7 separate regions of the Homo sapiens genome follow, and all the other regions are linked to region 4. The links are contacts of gene promoters, found by promoter capture Hi-C in human tissues and cell types (Jung and others, 2019). All regions are on one chromosome and are shown on one strand. The core of a region is centred on a gene start or on the middle of the fragment in contact, and the rest is flanking DNA. Distances in the headings are between cores, read along the strand shown. Region 1 overlaps SMYD3 (SET and MYND domain containing 3). Region 2 overlaps CNST (consortin, connexin sorting protein). Region 3 overlaps SMYD3 (SET and MYND domain containing 3). Region 4 holds the start of KIF26B (kinesin family member 26B). Region 5 overlaps TFB2M (transcription factor B2, mitochondrial). Region 6 overlaps SMYD3 (SET and MYND domain containing 3). Region 7 overlaps SMYD3 (SET and MYND domain containing 3).

The links. The method cuts DNA at HindIII sites, captures the fragments that hold promoters and counts their contacts. A contact is called where the count stands out against the background at its distance.
Region 1: a contact is called between a fragment that was not itself captured here and the fragment with the promoter of KIF26B in region 4, in 1 of the 25 tissues and cell types used here (IMR-90 fibroblasts).
Region 2: a fragment that was not itself captured here is called in contact with the fragment with the promoter of KIF26B in region 4 in 1 of the 25 tissues and cell types used here (lymphoblastoid cells).
Region 3: a contact is called between a fragment that was not itself captured here and the fragment with the promoter of KIF26B in region 4, in 1 of the 25 tissues and cell types used here (dorsolateral prefrontal cortex).
Region 5: a fragment that was not itself captured here is called in contact with the fragment with the promoter of KIF26B in region 4 in 1 of the 25 tissues and cell types used here (hippocampus).
Region 6: a contact is called between a fragment that was not itself captured here and the fragment with the promoter of KIF26B in region 4, in 1 of the 25 tissues and cell types used here (lymphoblastoid cells).
Region 7: a contact is called between a fragment that was not itself captured here and the fragment with the promoter of KIF26B in region 4, in 1 of the 25 tissues and cell types used here (dorsolateral prefrontal cortex).

What each region holds. Positions count from the first base shown.
Region 1 is chr1:246,169,980-246,172,710 of GRCh38, forward strand. All of the region lies in intron 5 of SMYD3 (SET and MYND domain containing 3), which reads right to left. Among named protein-coding and RNA genes, the nearest start is that of SMYD3-AS1, 63 kb to the left of the region's middle. RefSeq lists a cis regulatory region at 741-914 and a silencer at 1,054-1,113. The HindIII fragment of the contact is 4,220 bases long and covers 1-2,731 here.
Region 2 is chr1:246,662,334-246,665,033 of GRCh38, forward strand. All of the region lies in intron 10 of CNST (consortin, connexin sorting protein), which reads left to right. Among named protein-coding and RNA genes, the nearest start is that of SCCPDH, 61 kb to the right of the region's middle. The HindIII fragment of the contact is 3,484 bases long and covers 1-2,700 here.
Region 3 is chr1:246,466,387-246,469,086 of GRCh38, forward strand. The region is part of intron 1 of SMYD3 (SET and MYND domain containing 3); the gene reads right to left. Among named protein-coding and RNA genes, the nearest start is that of SMYD3, 40 kb to the right of the region's middle. The HindIII fragment of the contact is 8,621 bases long and covers 1-2,700 here.
Region 4 is chr1:245,153,644-245,156,343 of GRCh38, forward strand. It overlaps KIF26B (kinesin family member 26B), which reads left to right and starts at 1,342. Exons shown (of 15, transcript NM_018012.4): 1 at 1,342-1,844; 2 at 2,639-2,700. The coding sequence starts at 1,782. RefSeq lists enhancers at 1-153, 154-829 and a silencer at 684-883. The HindIII fragment of the contact is 11,465 bases long and covers 1-2,700 here.
Region 5 is chr1:246,541,342-246,544,041 of GRCh38, forward strand. All of the region lies in intron 7 of TFB2M (transcription factor B2, mitochondrial), which reads right to left. Among named protein-coding and RNA genes, the nearest start is that of LINC01743, 18 kb to the left of the region's middle. The HindIII fragment of the contact is 6,053 bases long and covers 1-2,700 here.
Region 6 is chr1:246,335,424-246,338,123 of GRCh38, forward strand. It overlaps SMYD3 (SET and MYND domain containing 3), which reads right to left. Exons shown (of 12, transcript NM_001167740.2): 3 at 1-51. Among named protein-coding and RNA genes, the nearest start is that of SMYD3-IT1, 14 kb to the left of the region's middle. The HindIII fragment of the contact is 6,069 bases long and covers 1-2,700 here.
Region 7 is chr1:246,417,322-246,420,118 of GRCh38, forward strand. All of the region lies in intron 1 of SMYD3 (SET and MYND domain containing 3), which reads right to left. Among named protein-coding and RNA genes, the nearest start is that of SMYD3, 89 kb to the right of the region's middle. RefSeq lists an enhancer at 126-420. The HindIII fragment of the contact is 3,336 bases long and covers 1-2,797 here.

The DNA.
Region 1 (2,731 bases), core at 150-2,649, 1.0 Mb after region 4:
TATTTTTGATTTTCAAGTTTTGATAACAAAACTAGAATGTGTTACAGTTTAATTCTGAGTCTGCATCGTTCTTGGTTTTTGATCATTATAGAAAATACAGAAAACACAGAATAAGGAAAAAAGAGAATGTGACATAGTACAACTTAAGAAAAAATAATTTGGGTGTTATTTCCTCACTATCAAAAACAATAATTAAATAATATATTTTTCATTAACCTAAAATGAAGAATTTAACACAATGATTTTCTCCCCCTCCTAGAAATATGCTCAATTAAAAATATCAGAATAGTGTGATATATATTATGTATGAAATATAATCCAACTAATACTGCAGCATGGTTAGTTTCCATATTACTAAATATGCCTCATGGTTGCATGTAGCTTCCCTTTACATTTATTTATAATTCATTTAACCACTCCCACACTCATTACTTTTTTTTTTTTTTGCTATTAAAAAAAAGTATAATTACTGCTTTCACCAAACAAGGATTGCTATGAATAATTTTTTCTTAATTTTAATTTTTCTTTTTTTATTGGCCTACTTAGGAATTCTACTATGAGTAATTTTTGACTCGATAAATATTTCTAAATTTGCTTGTCTCAAAATATAAATCAATTTACACAAAAACGGTAGTAATACAAGACTGCCTGTCTTAAACTCTCCCTAAGATTTGGGCATTAACATTTCTTGTTCATTTTTGTCAAATGGCATTTCACTATTTACCTTTCATTCTTCCAAATGAACACTAAAAAATTACCTGGAAAACTGCTTTCAAGAAACGTAGTCGAGAAAGACTGACACGTTATAATGCTCAGTCTTATCATCTACAAACATACTATGTCTTTCCAAGTAATCTTCTACATTTCTTAAAGCTCGTAGACTTCTTATTTTCCTGCACTGTTTGTGACCGCTAAATACTGTATTTTGCAAAACCTTTCAGTTTTTTTATATGCAAAATTCATGTTATTTTTCAAACAACCCTCTAATTTTTTTTAAACCAGAAGATTATTTTCTATGGTTTCATAGTCTACAAATTACTACTTTCAGATTATCAATTTCTGAGTATACTTTGTTTCTTTCAGTACATGTTATGGTTCTCTATTCTAGTTTTCTAAGTGGTTTTGATTTCTACTTTGGTCTAATAGAGTTTCTGTGCTCCCACGCATTGGGTGAGGTAGAACCAATGCTGTCTGTGTACAATCAAGAATTGATTTTGGTAAACGTTTCAAAGATAACTGAAAAAAAGGTATATTTCTTTTATAAAAGATATCAAGTTTATCCTATCAATTGTTTTTTATCTTAAATTATTTTTATATGACATTAATATAATCCCTCCTTTCTTTGAATTTCTCTGATTCACCTTTGCATATCCTTTTGCTTTAAATCATAACATTTTAGATCATTCTTTTTCCAGAGGGATGGGGGTAGGGAGTGCCGGTGTCATCACTGGAAAAGAGCTTACACCTGAGAGTACTGGAGTCATGTCTTCTTAACAGAGACACCTGCCAAGAAATTCATTGTTAGGTGATTTTGTCCTTGTGTCAACATCATAGACACACTAACGCAAACCTAGATGAGACAGTCTACTACACACCTGGGCTACATGATATTGCCTATTGCTCCTAGGCTACAAACCTGTACAGTATGTTCTTGTACTGAATACTATAGGCAGTTGTAATACAATGGTAGGTATTTATGTATCTACACTTATCTAAACATAGAAGAGGTACAATAAAAATACAGTATAAGGTTGGGCATGGTGGCTCATGCCTATGATTCCAATGCTTTGGGAGGCCAAGGTGGGGGAATTGCTTGAGGCCGGGAGTTTGAGACCAGACTGGGCAACATAGCAAGACCTCAACTCTAGAAAAACTTAAAAAATTAACCCAGCATGTTGGCAAACATCTGTAATCATAGCTACTCAGCAGGCTGAGGCAAGAGAATTGCTTGAGCCCAGGAGTTCGAGGCTACAGTGAGCCAAGATCACATCACTGCATTCCATCCTGGGTGACAGACTATGACTTTATCTCATGAAGGAAAAGAAAGTTATGAAAGATAAAAATGGTATACCTATGTAGAGCACTGACCATGAATGGAGCTTGCAGGACTACAAGTTGCTCTCCGTGAATGAGCGAGTGGCAGGTGAATGTGAAGGCCTAGAACACTCACTGTACTCTACTGTAGACTATCCACACTGCACGCTTAGGCTACACAGGCCTAGAACACTCACTGTTCTCTACTGTAGACTTTATCAACACCACACACTTAGGCTACACAGGCCTAGAACACTCACTGTTCTCTACTGCAGACTATCCACACTGTACGCTTAGGCTACACAGGCCTAGAACACTCACTGTACTCTACTGTAGACTTTATCAACACTGCACACTTAGGCTACACAGGCCTAGAACACTCACTGTACTGTAGACTTTATCAACACTACACACTTAGGCTACACAGGCCTAGAACACTCACTGTTCTCTACTGCAGACTATCCACACTGTATGCTTAGGCTACACAGGCCTAGAACACTCACTGTTCTCTACTGTAGACTTTATCAACACTGCACACTTAGGCTACACAGGCCTAGAACACTCACTGTACTCTACTGTAGACTTTATCAACACTACACACTTAGGCTACACAGGCCTAGAACACTCACTGTACTCTACTGTAGACTTTATCAACACTACACACTTAGGCTACACAGGCCTAGAACACTCACTGTTC
Region 2 (2,700 bases), core at 175-2,674, 1.5 Mb after region 4:
TTTGTAGTAGCCATGTTAAAGTGAAAAGAAACAGGTGAGATGAATTTTATTTTTTATTTGATTTTATTTTTTTTGAGACGGGATCTCACTCTGTCGCCCGGCTGGAGTGCAGTGGTGCGATCTTGGCTCGCTGCAACCTCCGCCTCCCGAGTTCAAGCGATTCTTCTGCCTCAGCCTCCCAGGTAGCTGGGATTACAGGCATGTTCCCCGACGCCTGGCTAATTTTTGTACTTTTAGTAGAGACAGGGGGTTTCACCATGTTGGCCAGGCTGGTCTCGAACTCCTGACCTCAGGTGATCTGCCTGCCTCGGCCTCCCAAAGTGCTGGGATTACAGGCGTGAGCCACCGCACCTGGCCAGAATTTTAAGAATGTATTTTATTTAACCCAGTACATAAAAATTATTTCAAAATGTGATCTATATGAAAAAATTACTAGTGAGACATTTTACATCCTTTTTTTCACACTAAGTATTCAGAATCTGTGTTCATCGCCGCTCAGTTTGGACCAGCTACATGTCAAGTGCCCAACAGCCACCTGTGGCTCACATCGGACAGTACAGCTCAGACAGGTCTAGGACATATAAATAAAACAAACAGCATAGATGCTTTTACATATTTAAGCTATATTTAAATGTTTGGATTTGAATATATGATAATGAAGAAAAATACTTTAGGTTGTTAACATAGATGAAGTGGGGGTAGGAATCATGTTAAGAAAAGCACGTAAGGCATGGTGCAGTGGCTCACACCTGTCATCCCAGCACTTGGGGAAGCCTCCTCCCAAGTCTTCCTCCTGGATCACTCGAGGCCAGGAGTTGGAGACCAGCCTGGGCAAACATGGCAAGACCCCATCTCTACAAAAAATACAGAAATTAGCAGGGCATGGTGGTGTGTGCACCTTTGGTCCCAGCTACTTGGGAGGCTGAGATGGGAGGATCGCTTGAGCCCAGGAGGTTGAGGCTGCAGTGAGTGTGGCCTGGTGACAGAGCACAACCCTATGTCTAAAAAAAAAAAAAAAAGAAAGACAAGACCGAACTGTCCAAAAAAATACAGCATGATTAATATGATCCTATTTCTTCATTTATATAAAAGACATATTTTCATACATAGGTATAAACTATTTTAGACTGGGCGTGGTGGCTTATGCCTGTAATCCCAGCACTTTGGGAGGCCAAGGCGGGCAAATCACCTGAGGTCAGGAGTTTGAGACCAGCCTGGCCAATATGGTGAAACCCCATCTCTATAACAATACAAAAAGTAGCCAGGCATGATGGCAGGTGCCTGTAATCTCAGCTACCCAGGAGGCTGAGGCAGGAGAATTGCTTGAACCCAGGAGGCAGAGGTTGCAGTGAGCCAAGATCACACCATTGCACTCTAGCCTGGGCAACAAGAACAAGACTCTGTCTCAAAAAAAAAAACAACTATTTTAAAATGTAAATTTCAGAGCAAACAATTTTTTAATCCTATTTTGATGTAAGTCCTGAAATCATACGTGTTTGATCTGAAATGACACACACCAAATTTAACAGTGTTTACCTCTGGGATGGGAAGGAAATATGATTGGGCGGGAGAAAAACGGATAGTCCCTTAGACTCTAAGATGCTTTTGGGGTTGCGTTTTTACAGGGAGAATATATTCATGTATTACTGCACAATGTTCTAAATAAAGTCTATTTGGTATCCATTAGGTTTTGTAAAATTTGTTTCTTGTAAAAATATATGCTAATTATGAAAAAAATCAGTTTAATAAAGTAAAAATTAAATCATGAGTCTTAGACATCCTTCAATGAAAGAACATATTAAATTTACTTCATTCTATTAAATACTTACATCATATTCCATTATATAAATGTCCCATAATTGTTTAACTGTTCCATTGTAACCAGAACCACTAAGTTATTCCCAGCCTTTTGTTATAACAAACCCTGCTGCAGTGAACAAGCTTGTATATATGATATTTGTTGTGCAGAACTGTAGCCTAATTCTTAAAGGTGGATTTGCTGGGATATGTTGAAACTATATGTCCCAGGTGGCCTGAGGCCGTCCTGGTTTACACCTGTTGTCCCGGAATTGCATTCAGTTAACACTGTCTTTTTTTCTTTTTTTTTTTTTGAGAAGGAGTCTCGCCCTGTGGCCCAGGCTGGAGTGCAGTGGTGTGATCTCAGCTCACTGCAACCTCCGCCTCCCAGGTTCATGCCATTCTCCTGCCTCAGCCTCCTGAGTAGCTGAGACTATAGGCACCTGCCACCACGCCCAGCTGATTTTTTATATTTTTAGTAGAGACGGGGTTTCACCGTGTCAGCCAGGATGGTCTCGATCTCCTGACCTCGTGATCCGCCCGCCTCAGCCTCCCAAAGTGCTGGGATTACAGGCGTGAGCCACCACACCCAGCCTTAACACTGTCTTTTACTCTCAAAATTGTCCAGTCTGTAGGATAAATTAATTTTAAATTTTAATAGATACTGCCAAATTACCTTCCAAAAAGGCATTCCTACACTTTAATCATGCTGCAGATCAGAAGACTTTTTGGTCTTTTTGAAATTAAAATTTTTTTTAAATTATGAATAATTAAGATATTTTTCAACCAAAGAATGATTGTTTTCTTCAATATAGAAAGATGCAAAAGAGATCCCACCCAAAGGCATTTTTATTGTTTAATATTAAGTCGACTTTGCTCTCAGGTAGTCCCATTATGTGAACC
Region 3 (2,700 bases), core at 16-2,515, 1.3 Mb after region 4:
GGAGCTGGAGGCCATCATCCTTAGCAAACTAACACAGGAAAAGAAAACCAAATACTGCAGGTTCTTGCTTAAAGGGGGAGCTAAATGATGAGAACACATGGACACATAAAGAGGGACAACAGACACTGGGGCCTCCTTGAGGGTGGAGGTTGGAAGGAGGGAGAGGATCAGGAAATATAACTGTTGGATACTAGACTTAATATGTGGATGACAAAATAATCTATACAACAAACCCACATCACATGAGTTTACCTATATAAAAAACCTGCACACGTATCCCTGAACCTAAAATAAAAATTTTAAAACTAAAAATGAGCTGGGCATGGTGGCACATGCCTATAGCCCCAGCTACTCAGGAGGCTGATGGGGGAGGATCACTTGAGCCCGGGAAATCAAGGCTCCAGTGAGCCATGATCATGCCACTGCACTCCAGCCTGGGCAACAGAGTGAGGCCCTGTCTCAAAAAGAATAATAATTTTTAAAATTTTTTTTTTAAAAATGCTGGGCGCAGTGGCTCACGCCTGTAATCCCAGCACTTTGGGAGGCCAAGGCAGGTGGATCACTTGAGGTCAGGAGTTCAAAATCAGTCTGGCCATCATGGCAAAACCTCATCTCTACTAAAAAGACAAAAAAATTAGCCGGGAATGGGGGCGTGTGCCTGTAATCGCAGCTACTTAGGAGGCTGAGGTAGGAGAATCACTTGAGCCCAGGAGGTGGAGGTTGGAGTGGGCTGAGATCACATCACTGCACTCCAGCCTTGGCGACAGAGTGAGACTCCATCTCAAAAAAAATAAATAAATAAAATTTAAAAATAAAATACACTTACCAATAAAACAATGGCAAGTTGCTGTGACTCTATTACTTAGGACAGGAGAGACACATCATTTGACAGAATTAGATTTCACATACTTTAGGATGCTACCTGTTTTGCTTGAACTACCCAACATAAATATAAGGGAAATAATAAAAATATAAGAGCAGAAATAAATGAAATGGAGGCTAGAAAAACAATACAAAAGATCAATGAAACAAAGAGCTGGTTTTTTAAAAAACACAAAATTGACAAACCTTTAGCTAGACAAAAAGAGGGAAGACTCGAATAAAGAAAATCAGAGATGGAAAAGGAGCTATTACAATGGAAATACTAAGGATCGTAATATTATGAACAACTATAGGTCAACCAACTCAATAACATAAAAAAAGAGATAAATTCCTAACACATACAATCCAAGATAAAAGTCTCCCATCAAAGCAAAGCCCAGGACCTGACAGCTTCACTGCTGAACTCTAAAAAGCAATTAAAGAACTAGTACTAATTCTTCTCAAACTATTCCAAAAAATGGAAGAGGAGGGAATACTTCCAAACTCATTCAAAAAAGCCAGCATTATTCTGACAGCAAAACCAGACAGACACAATAAAAGAAGAAAATTACAGACAAATATCCCTGATTAACATAGAGGCAAAAATCCTCAACAAAATATTTGTAAACCAAATTCAGCAGCACATCAAAAAGAGCACTCACCAGTACTTGCAGAGGCCAAGGTGGGCAGATCGCTTGAGCCCAGGAGTTCACGACCAGCCTGGGCAACATGGCGAAACCCCGTTTCTACTAAAATTACAAAAATTAGGCGGGCGTGGTGGCACATGCCTGTAGTCCCAACTACTCAGAAGGCTGGGTTGGGAGGATCACTTAAGCCCAGGAGGTGGAAGTTGCAGTGAGCCATGATCTCACCACTGCACTCCAGCCTGGGCAACAGAACAAGACTCTGTCTTAAAAAAAAAAAAAAAAGATAATTCACCATGATGGAGTGGGATTCATCCCAGGGACGCAAAGATGGTTTAACATAAGTAAATCAGTAAACATGATACATCACATTAACAGAATGAAAAACAAAAAATATATGATCATTTCTATAGATGCAGAAAAAGGCATTTGACAAAATTCAATATGCCTTTTTAAAAACATTTACAGTTCAGACATGGTAGCTCACATCTGTAATCCCAGAACTCTGGGAGGTTGAGGCGGGCAAATCGCTTGGGCTCAGGAGTTCAAGACCAGCCTGGGCAACATGGTGAAACCCCATCTCCACAAAATATACAAAAATTAGCCAGGTATGGTGGCACATGCCTGTAATCCCAGCTACTTGACAGGCTGAGGCAGGAGAATCACTTGAACCCAGGAGGCAGAGGTTGCAGTGGGCCAAGATCACACCACTGCACTCCAGCCTGGGTGACAGAGTGAGACTCTGTCTCCAAAAAAAGGAAAAAAAATTAATAACAATAATAATAACAAATAAAAATTAACAGGGCTGGGTGTGGTGGCTCATGTCTGTAATTCAACATTTTGGGAGGCTGAGGTGGAAGGGTTGCTTGGGGTCAGGAGTTTAAGACCAGACTAGACAACAAAGCAAGACATTACCACTGGAAAAACTTTAAAAATTAGCCGGGCATGGTGGTACATGCCTGGAGTCCTAGGTACTTAGGAGGCTAAGGCAGGAGGATCACCTAAGCCAAGGAGTTGGAGGCTACAGTGAACTATGATCATACCACTGTACTCCAGCCTGGCCAACAAGACTGTGCCTTCAGTCATTAAGCCTCTGTACATGGTAGCCTTTTCACGCTAAACCCAGGCTACTGCCTACCCACTGGCCCATTCAGTACCTCCACATTCCATCACTAGAGCAAAAGAGAACTTCTGG
Region 4 (2,700 bases), core at 92-2,591:
CGAGGAAGGCAGAGTGGGGGCGTGGCCCCAGGCTTCCAGAACCCCGAACCTTTGTCTTCTTGCCCCCTCCTGCGTCGTCCACAGCTCAGAAGGAAGTCAGCGACCAGAAAGCCCTGAACGTCCTTCGCGCCCTCGCCCACCCCCGGGCTGGGTCTCCCCGCGGGCGCGGAGATGCCGTTACACCCCACGTGATCCCTGCGCCCGGCCAGTCCTTCCAGAGGCGTCTCGCGGGGTGTTAATTAAAGGTCACAACAAAACAGACCTGCTGGCTCACCAGAAGAAATGTCCTCCCGTGAAATGAAAAATGACACCCCAGAGCAGCCACGTGTGGAGCCTGGCATACGCCGGCTTCCTGCGCTCCTGGGCGCTGCGCCGGGGGACTGGGGCGGGGGGCGATCGGAGAGGGAGCGATGACGGGGTGCTCCGGAGACCCCGCGGGGCCCAGGCGCAGGAAGAAACGGGCGGCGGGGGGCGAGGGGCCCGATCCCACGCAAGGAGAGGCCAAGGCCAGCTCGCGCCACACCCCCTCTCCAGGCCAGAGTCGTCCGCGTGCAGCGCGGCGAAGCCCTCAGTTTCCCCTGCCCGGCAGCGGCCCGCTGGGTCACCAGGCTCACCTGTCCCAGCCCCGGGCGGCTTAGTCCATCACAGACCGGGGCTCGGGCGGGCGGGGGACCAAGGGCCCTAGTCCTGCGGCTGCGGTCGGGGAGGGTGGCCCCCCGGCCGGCCCGGGGTCGGTAGGGCAATTCCAGAAAAGGTTTGCCCGGCAGCTCTCCGAGAACAAAGGGCGGGGGGAGGACCCGGCATGTTTGTGGACTTGTTTGTGACTCAATCCCTTTTGCACGGCGTTTCACAGACAGACCTGCAAGCCTTGTCAGGAAGAGAAAGAACTTGGGGGCGGGGGAGGCTGGGGCACCGCATTTCCGTCCAGCCACGCTCGCTCGCGCGGCCCCCGGGCTCCAGGCTCGCGCAGCGGCGTTTCATTAGAGCCCCGGGCCCGGGCCGCGCGCCAGGAACTTCCCCGCACGCGGCGAGATCGACGATCCCCCGCCCCCAGCCCCAGCCCGGCTCCAGGCCTCGCAATGTCAGGCACGAGCGCCGCCACATAAAATGGATCCCGGCCGGCGCGGCGAGGGCGGCAGGTTCCCGAGGCTCCTCCGCGCTGCGCCCGGGCGCACACGCGCGCTGTGACCGCCGACCGCTCCCGGGCCACGCGGAGCCGCCCCTCTCCCGGCCCTCGCGCAACTGTCAGGCGAAACGGGCCGGCGGATATTGGCTCGGCGACACGCCGAGGCTCCTCCCCGAGTCTGGATCTTTATATTTTGGGAGAATTTCTTTGAACTCAGTTACCAAGCTCGGTGAAGGAGACAAGTTCCCACAGCTGACTCGGCTCGGCTCTCCCACCTTCCCGGCAGCGGCCGCGAGCCCTGATTGTATCCCTCGCTTTCCTCGTGGGGGAGCACGGACTGACTTGGCTGAAGAAAATGCCAGTTCTGTGGATGTGGCCGTGACAAGAGGACGTGCGGCTGGAAGAGGCAGAAGGGGACGAGGAAAAGCATGCTTTGAAGAGAAGAATAAACCAGCGACCCCAACCCTTTCTGCAAATTGGTGCTATTACTTGTGGGATCCATTTGCTTTCATTCCCTCCCACCCCACCGCTGAAGAAACCTTGCCCTGAGGGCTGAGAGCCAGCCCCCTGCAGCCGGGGGACGCTTCTGGGTTGGAGGACCTTCTGGATGTAGCGTCGGTGGAACCTTTAGATACTCTCCTCTGGAAAAGCCACCATGAATTCGGTAGCTGGGAATAAAGAGAGGCTTGCGGTCTCCACCAGGGGCAAGAAATACGGGGTAAGTTGTGACGGTACGACGCGGAGACGCGTTACCAGACCCATCTCGGCGGAGGTCCCCCTTTCCCCGGGATCGTGCGGCCCCGGCCCCGAGCTCTCCCCCGCTGCAGAGGCGCCCCCGGGGCTGGCGGGGTTGTGAGTGCGCGGAGGCGGGTCGGCCGCGGGGACGCCCGCACGCTCGCCTCGCTCTCGGAATTTTTTCAGCCCTCTCGTTCCTTCCTTTCCACGCACCCGTAACTTTTGCCGCATTCCTGCACTTCTAGGCAGAGTGAAGCCGAAGGGGAGGGTTTCCCATGAATGCTGGGCAGTACCTCGGATCGTTTAGCTGGAGCCGTGAGAGCCTCTCGTTTACCTGCAGGATCCGGAGAGTTGGACCCCGTATGAATAAAAATCCTGAAATCACAGCCCTCCCCCTACCCCCCCCATAGGGTCTTCCAGGATTTTGTTCCCGGGATCTTGCTGGGATAGGTGCCGGCTTCAAAAGCGTGGGGCGCTGAACCTATGGATCCCCCCCGCCTTGCAGAAGCCGTGGAAACGGCCCCGAGCGAGTCCCCTTCCTGACCCCAGGAGGAGGCCACCGGGGACCAGCGCAGGGGTCACCTGGGCGGTGGGGACTCACTTAAGGACAATTAACGAGACAGACGGAGGGCAATTTGGCCGCAGGGCTTGGAGAGGTCCCCAACCGACTCCCGTGGGCGGTTCGAGCGGGTACTTGGTGGCGCACGTATGACCCAGCTCCTGGGCGCTGCAGCCCGCCGCCTTGCAGCCCCTGACACCGGCGTGTCTTCCCCGCAGGTGAATGAAGTCTGCTCGCCCACCAAGCCCGCAGCGCCCTTCTCCCCGGAAAGCTGGTACCG
Region 5 (2,700 bases), core at 76-2,575, 1.4 Mb after region 4:
AGCAGGGAAGAGGATGGGAGGAGGGTGAAGGATGGGAGGAGGGTGAAGGATAAAAAGCTACCTACTGGGTACAATGTACACTATTTGGGCATGGGTACACTAAAAGCCCAGACTTCAACAATCCATCCATGAAACCAAAAAAATCACTTGTATTCCTAAGGCTATTGAAATAAGAAGAAAAAAAAAAGCCTAACTTATTATATATAAGCAATCTTATTTAGTTTAAGAGCTTCCAGTAACTTTATGCTTATTTCTAAAGTTTCATAGCTAACCTATAATGAAAATATTAATAGCAGGTTTAGGCTTTCACATACTCTAATCAATTTTTACACCGAATTCTAGTTTAATCACTGCCGTTTGAAAAAATTATTATGCCTACCTCTTTCATCCTTTTCCTTTCTGCAAAAAATATTCTTAACTTCTTTTGGTTCATGTCAAAGTTCAGTAACTATAAACAGCAGAAGTTGCTGTTTGGCAGTTTACAAAGAGGGAATCATTTTTCACATTTTGATGTAACCATCATTGGTAAATACATTATAAAGCCGCAAACTTCCTTATACAGTCATGCATTGCTTAATGATGGAGGTATGTCCTGAGAAATGCACTGTTAGGTGATTTCATTGTTGCTTGAACATCTTACAGAGTACTTAACCCAAACCTATGTGATATAGCCTATTACAGACTTAGGATATATGGCATAGCCTATTGCTCCAAGGATACAAACCTGCACAGCATGTTACTGTACTGAATACTGTAGGCAACTGTAACACAATGGTAAGTAATAGAAAAGATACAGTAAAAGATACAGCATCTTTATAATCTTATGGGACCACTATTGTACATTTGGTCCACTACTGACTGAAACGAGGTATAACGAACACGCCTCATTATGAGGTATTATATATATAAGGTATATTATATAATATATATACAATATATAATCAATGAGGTATATTATATACCATAATATGAGGTACATAACTGTGTATCAGCTTAGCAACAAACCATCAATAAGCCTCCAACAACAACAATTGTAAAAAAATATTTTGGGCTGGGTGCGGTGGCTCCTACCTGTTATCCCAGCACTTTGGGGGGCTAGGTGGGAGGATCATTTGAGCCCAAGAGTTCAAGACTATCCTGAGCAACATAGTGAGACCCCATCTCTACAAAAATCGTAAAAAGTTAGCTGGGCATAGTGGTGGGCATAGTAGTCCCAGCTACTCAGGGAAGAGGCTGAGGCAGGATCACTTGAGCAAGGGGTTTGTGGTTGCAGTGAGCTATGATTGTGCCACTGTACTCCAGACTGGGCAACAGAGTGAGACTCTCTGTCTGTTCAATTCCAATACTTTTTGATATTGAATAGAATCTTGGTAACATGTTTCTAGTCCACTGAGATTACCAGGAGCATTTTTAATATTTTGCACTATGATTTACAACATTTATTCCTTATTTCCCTATTTTCTTGATATTTTCATTCAAAATAGCCACAAGGTGGCAAGATGAAAAATAATAGATTGCCTTTTATTAGTCTATTGCCTTTTACTAGTCTATTACCACTTTTTTTTTTTTTTTTTTTTAGAGATAGAGTCTTGCTCTGTCACCCAGGCTCATCTCAAAGTCTTGTTGGCGCTCTCTGCCTCCCAATTTTTTTTTTTTTTTTTTTTTTAGAGACAAGGTCAGCTTGCTCTGTGTCCCACACTGCAATGCAGTGGTGAGTTTATGGCTCACTACAGCCTCCAATCCCCGGCCTCCTCAAGTGATCCTCCCACCTTGGCCTCACAAAAATGCTCGGATTACAGGCATGAACCACTGCACCCAGGCTATTGCCACTTTTAACATTTATTTTTAGATAAATATTGTCTAGTCAACAGCTCATTCAGAGTTAAATATTAAATGATCAAATTTGTTAAAATAATTATTTTAACATTTTACCCATCCTCTGGCGAGACTTTGAATGACTATGGGCTGCTGATTACAAGGCATAATGCACAACTTACAGGGACGTATGCATCAGCCCTACATACAAATTACATGGATTTATGTACAAATTACACAGATGGCTGGGCGCGGGAGCTCATGCCTGTAACCCCAACACTACTTACAGAGATGTATGCATCATCCCTACATACAAATTACATAGATGGCCAGGCGCAGTGGCTCATGCTGGTAACCTGAGCTGTACTTACAGAAGTGTGGGCATCAGGCCTACACACAAATTACATGGATGGCCAGGCATGGTGGCTCCCGCCTGTAACCCCAGCACTACTTACAGAGGTGTGTGCATCAGCCCTACATACAAATTACATGGATGGCCAGGTGCAGTGGCTCATGCCTGTAACCCCAGCACTTTGGGAGGCCAAGCAAGGTGGATTGCTTGAGGCCAGGAATTTGAGACCAGCCTGGGCAAGGTGGCAAAACCCCATCTCTACAAAAATTGGCATACAATTTATAAACACAAAATATAAATATAAAAATTTTATATTTTTACAAATATAAAAATTAGCCGGGCGTGGTGGTGCATGCTTGTAGTCCCAGCTACTCAGGAGGCTGAGGTGGGAGGATCACTTGAGCCTGGGAGGACAAGGCTGCAGTGAGCTGAGACTGTGCCACTACACTTCAGCCTGGACAACACAGCGAGACCCTGTCTCTAACAACAACAAAAAAATGTTTTTCACTTATATAGACATAAAGCAAGTAGTG
Region 6 (2,700 bases), core at 168-2,667, 1.2 Mb after region 4:
GCAGCTTTTAAGGCATTTGCATTCCCGCTTGTGGTCTGGCCAAGCTTTTTTCTATTAAAACAAGAGTGGGGAGAACATAGGTGACCTAAAATTTAACTTTCATTTATACTGGTTTTGAACATCAAGAGTCATAAACATTAAATTTTAATAGTCCAAATGTAACTGCACAATAGAAAATAAAAGCAATATTCTAAATCTGAAAATAATCCAGGATGAGTCTTTGCCAAATATGCAATTACTATGCAAGGACATTAAAAGCCTCAGCTTCACCTCTGTGCTTTCATTTGTCCCCTGGTTATTACCTGGCTAGTGGAGTCCAAAGAAAGAGCCATTACAGCTTACTTAATAATGTATAAGATGGTCTTGGAACTGATTAAACAGGATTCAACAATAGTCATTTTGAATACAAAAGGAAAATGTCACTCCAAATTAGAAAATAAAACGTGGTTCAGAAGACTCAAAATAGGGATGACAGCCTTCTGAATTTCTGTGCTGCTACAGAAATATCAGGAGGGCTAACACACCCCCAAATATAAAATCTCTTTGTTTTAAAAGCAACATAAAAAGAACTATTAGCTAAAATCATTAAATGTCCAGTTTGTCCTGGATGTGTCTAGGTTTGTATCTATGTCCTGGCTTAAATATTAATAGTGCCCCTTTTCACTCTGAAAAGTTCTGGTTTTGATGACAAATTATATGGTCACCTAAGCCATGATCCTAGCCATGTGTTGATGTGGCTAAAGAGACCATTGAGTCAGTTGCCAATGTACAGATGAATGGACTAAAGGGAAGGACACTATCCTTGAGCCTTGGATCAGAAAGGCGACGGCTCCTTTCACACGGAATCACTTTCATATGGAAATAAAATCCAGATCATCTAATATTTAGCCCTGGTGAGTAGAAGAAGCCTCAATCAAATGTCTCTCGTGTTATATTCTGAAAATTGGAATTTCCATTACTGAAATGCCTGATACCACTTACTCATTCTTATTTCAAAAATTATAAATCTGCTCCTCAATTTCTGGGTCTACAAAATCAATGTGCTGTTCATAATTTTTGTTTTAGCATTTACACTTCACTCACTTCTAAACAAGACTGAGCTGATTCAAAGTAAAGATGTGTATGAAATAAGACTGCAAAACCAGAAACAGAACATATTAAAATTATGGAAGGGGGAAAAAGGAAAGCACGCTAGCATTTACTTAGCATTCTACAAGGTACTAGATACATGGCTAAGCAAATAACGAAGCACGTTTCACTTGATTTTCGTAACAATCCAAATGGTAGGTATTATCCCTCTATTACAAATAAAGGCTCAAAAGCTGATATCTAACTATCAAACTGCCCAAATACAAAAAGAGAGAGTAAAAATTCTTAGCATGCTAAACATGAGAGCTGAATAATTTCTGCATTACATTTGAGTATTTGTACGTCACATTTATTTGAGATGCCTTACAAGCAAGGCAAAAAAGAAGGCATAATGGCTTATATAATCCTCAACTGACAGAAAGTAAAAACATACAGTTTCACCAAGTATTAAATCACAGGAGGGATTTATTCCAAGAATGCTAATCAACACACTGAACAATGTCCTTAACAACAGTTCACAACTATAATGGCCTTTCATATGACTTCTAATATCAGTACTCACTGAAAGGCATAATATTAAAATACAACTCAGTGAAAGAACAAGCTTCTGTTGCTCAGGGGGCTAGTCCTTGACTAGCAATTAGCAATTACCAATGTGTGTAAGAGGCCTAAAATATACATGGTACAATTGTCAAGTAAGTTTTAAAAACACAATATCATGTTGACCCTACTTAGAGATTCAAAATATACTTAGCATCCTAAAAGTTCTAAAAGTCTATGCACTAAAGAAATGTGTATAAATTATTTAACACAGTTTCCCATGCTTGTTATTGTCACCCTTTAGAGAGTTAGGTTGGTATTCACTAACTCAGATATATCTATATATTTTTTTTCACCTGGTCTTTGTATGTGAGTGGGTTAAGCTAACAAATTTACATTCATTTGCACTCACAAGAAACAAGAATGTTAACTTTTTTGGTTTTTTACTGATAGAAGGGAGAACCATAACTTTGGCGTTAGTTTTCCTTTGATTATAGAAGTTGAGAAACCTGTCAGATGCTCTCATGGACAGAGCGTGTAGGCAGGAACGGATAACATAGTGCCAGTGGGTCTATCAGAAAGTACCTTAGGCTCTGTTCAAATGCCTCAGTGTCCAGCTGAACAGGGCTCACACTCAGCAAAACAAGGCAGAGATAATTTGAGGCAAAAGACCTTAAGAGCAGATTTTAATCAATGCTCATTTTAATTACAAGAGATCATCCATAACCCCTCTGTTAAAACCTAAATATTTGAGCAGCTCAGCCTCCTGATAGCTTACCAGGGTGAGATAAGTACAAAACGTACACCAGATAATGAACAACCGATCAGTTAGATGACAGCATTTGGAATTAAACATCCAAATTTTGGAAAATTCCTGTTAAAACAACTTTAGGTCCTTAACATAATTGATATAGAGCTCCTTTTCTCAACAATAACTAGAAACTAGACAAAATGTTTCTTAAACTTATTCCTAGATCATTGCCTGAAAACATACTTATTTTCTCATTTGCTTCAGCAAAAATATGTTCATTATTTCCATGAAAAGCCAAATCAGATCATTTAGGCATAAAT
Region 7 (2,797 bases), core at 1-2,500, 1.3 Mb after region 4:
GAGAACAGTAGGGGTGTTGCAGCAGAGAAAGAGTTTAATTACTGCAAGGCAGCTGAGCAGAAGGAGGGGAGGTATCTCTCAAATCCACCTCCTCGAAAGCTTGGAGCCCAGGGTTTTTAAGGATAATTTGGCAAGCTGAGGGCCAGGGAATGTATGCTACTGATTGGTTGGAGATGAAATCACTGGAGTGTTGGAACTGTCTTCACGTGCTGAGTCAGTTTCTAGGTGGGGGTCACAGGACGAGTTGAGTCTGTTCCTTGGTATGAGTCATGGTCCAGATGGCATCAGTCAGTTTACCAGAATGCAAAGGTCTGAAAAATATCTCAAAAACCCATCTTAGGGTTTACAGTGGTGATGTTATCTCAAATCTTGTGACCTCCAGCAGTAACCAAGCTAGGGAACAATGGCTGGTTATCTCTTCTTCACTGTGCTTATTACTTAGCAGAATTCAGGCCCTTATCATAATTCTAATCTTATTGACTTTCATTAGTTTTACAAATGCAGTTTCAGTTCCCAAGCAAGAAGGGGACCAGTTTCAGGAAGGGACTATTATCATCCTTGCTTTAAAGTTAAACTGTAAACTAAACTCCTTTTTAGTTAGCTTGACCTACACCCAGGAATGAGCAGATAGTCAGCTTCTGGGGTCAGAAGCAAGATAAAGTCAGCTGTGTTGGATTTCTCTAACCATCATAACCTTAGCAAGGTGGTTTCAGTTCTCTGAGTCTCATATACTGTGTGGCCCCTGTGCTTCTGCACATTAATACATTTATATGCCTCTTCCCCTGTTAATCAGTCTAATGTCAGGTCATTTCAGCACTTTCAAATTTCAGAGCCAGAGGGGGAGGAAAAATTATCTTCACACCTATACTCTCTAAGACCAAAAAGCAACAGACATTCTGCCACATGCTACAAGACGGATAAACCGACAAATATTATATGGTTCCACTTATAAGAAACATGAAGAGAAAGTAGAGTAAAGGTTCCCTTGTCCCCCTCTGCCACAGAGGGAGTGGCTTGCTTCTTCAGCGCCCTGCTGCTCAAACCTCTAGGGGGAGCATACAGATGGGCACGTTGTGGGGCTCGGACCCCATGGCAGTGTCTAGAGGTGTATGTTTACAGCTCCTGAAGCCCCAGTGGGCATGTGTTACAAGGTGCTCTTTTAATCTAGCCGTCTGTAGGCAGCTTGTGTTAGTCAGCTCAATTAGACCCCCTTCCTTATCACAAGGACAAAGGGATTTCTATATCCTGGGGTTTCTTGCTTTGGTGAACTGGAAGAATCAGATCACATGTAGGCTTGGAGAATAAGTGCAAGGTTTTATTGAGTAAAGTAGCTCTCAGCAGATGGGGGAGCCAGAAGGGAAATGGTTTTCTCCCGGAGTCGGGCGCTCGGTGACCTGGGCTCTCCTCCAACCGTCCCAGCCAAACTCCACGTCGTTCTGCTGGCCGACGGCCTCCCAGCGTGCTGGCATCTGTTGCTGTGCTCTTCTGCCTGCGTGCTCCCCTTTGTCAGGCCTCTGAGCCCAAGGTAAGCCATCATATCCCCCGTGACCTGCACGTATACATCCAGATGGCCTGAAGCAACTGAAGAACTACAAAACAACTGAAAATAGCCAGTTCCTGCCTTAACCGATGACATTGCACCATTGTGATTTGTTCCCTCCCCACCCTAAGTGATCAATTGACTTTGTGACAATACCCCCTCCCCGCCCTTGCGATAATGGACTTTGTGATATTCCTCCGCCCTTGAGAATGTAATATCCTTTGTAATATCCTCCCCACACTTGAGAATGTACTTTGTAAGATCCACCCCCCACTAGCAAAAATTGCTCCTAACTCCACCGCCTATCTCTATAAGAACTATAGATAAGTTCTTATAGGGATAAACCTATAAGATAAACCTATAAGAACTAATGATAATCCCACCACCCTTTGCTGACTCTCTTTTCAGACTTAGCCCGCCTGCACCCAGGTGATTAAAAAGCTTTATTGCTCACACAAAGCCTGTTTGGTGGTCTCTTCACATGGACACGTGTGACACCCTCCACGTCCTCCCGATGTCCGGCCACTTGTCTTCTTCCACCAATGTGTTCCTCTCACCCTCCAGCTGCTTCTGTCTGTGCCTTGCTAGGGTCTTGGGTTTTTATAGGCCCAGGATGGGGGCGTGGTAGACCAGGGTAGTCTTGGAAAATGCAACATTTGGGCGCAAAGGCAGAAGTGCTTGTCCTCACCTAGGTCGATGGGGGTAGCGCCCTAGCCAGGGACCATGCCCTCCTCTACCCAGCACTTCCCTTACCCCCTTCCTCATCATTTAAAGGGACCACACTCTTCCCTTCCCAGCACTCCCGTATCACAGTCAGTGGTGGCACTGGATTCTCATAGGACCACTAACCCTATTGTGAACTGCACATGGCAGGGATCTAAGTTGCATGCTCCTTATGAGAATCTAATACCTGATGATCCAAGGTGGAATAGTTTCATCTAGAAACCATCCGCCCCCCTCACTCTATATCCCTGGAAAAACTATCTTCCGCAAAACCAGTCCCTGGTGCCAAAAAGGTTGGGGACCACTGTTTTCAGCTAAAAAGTCTGTCACGACTTGAGCTGTGGCTCATGCCTGTAATCCCAGAATTTCGGGAGGCCGAGGCAGGGGGATCACGAGGTCAGGAGATCGAGACTTCTCCATCCTGGCTAACACGGTGAAACCCCGTCTCTATTAAAAATATAAAAATTAGCCAGGTGTGGTCGCACATGCCTGTAGTCCCAGCTACTCGGGAGGGTGAGGCAGAAGAATCACTTG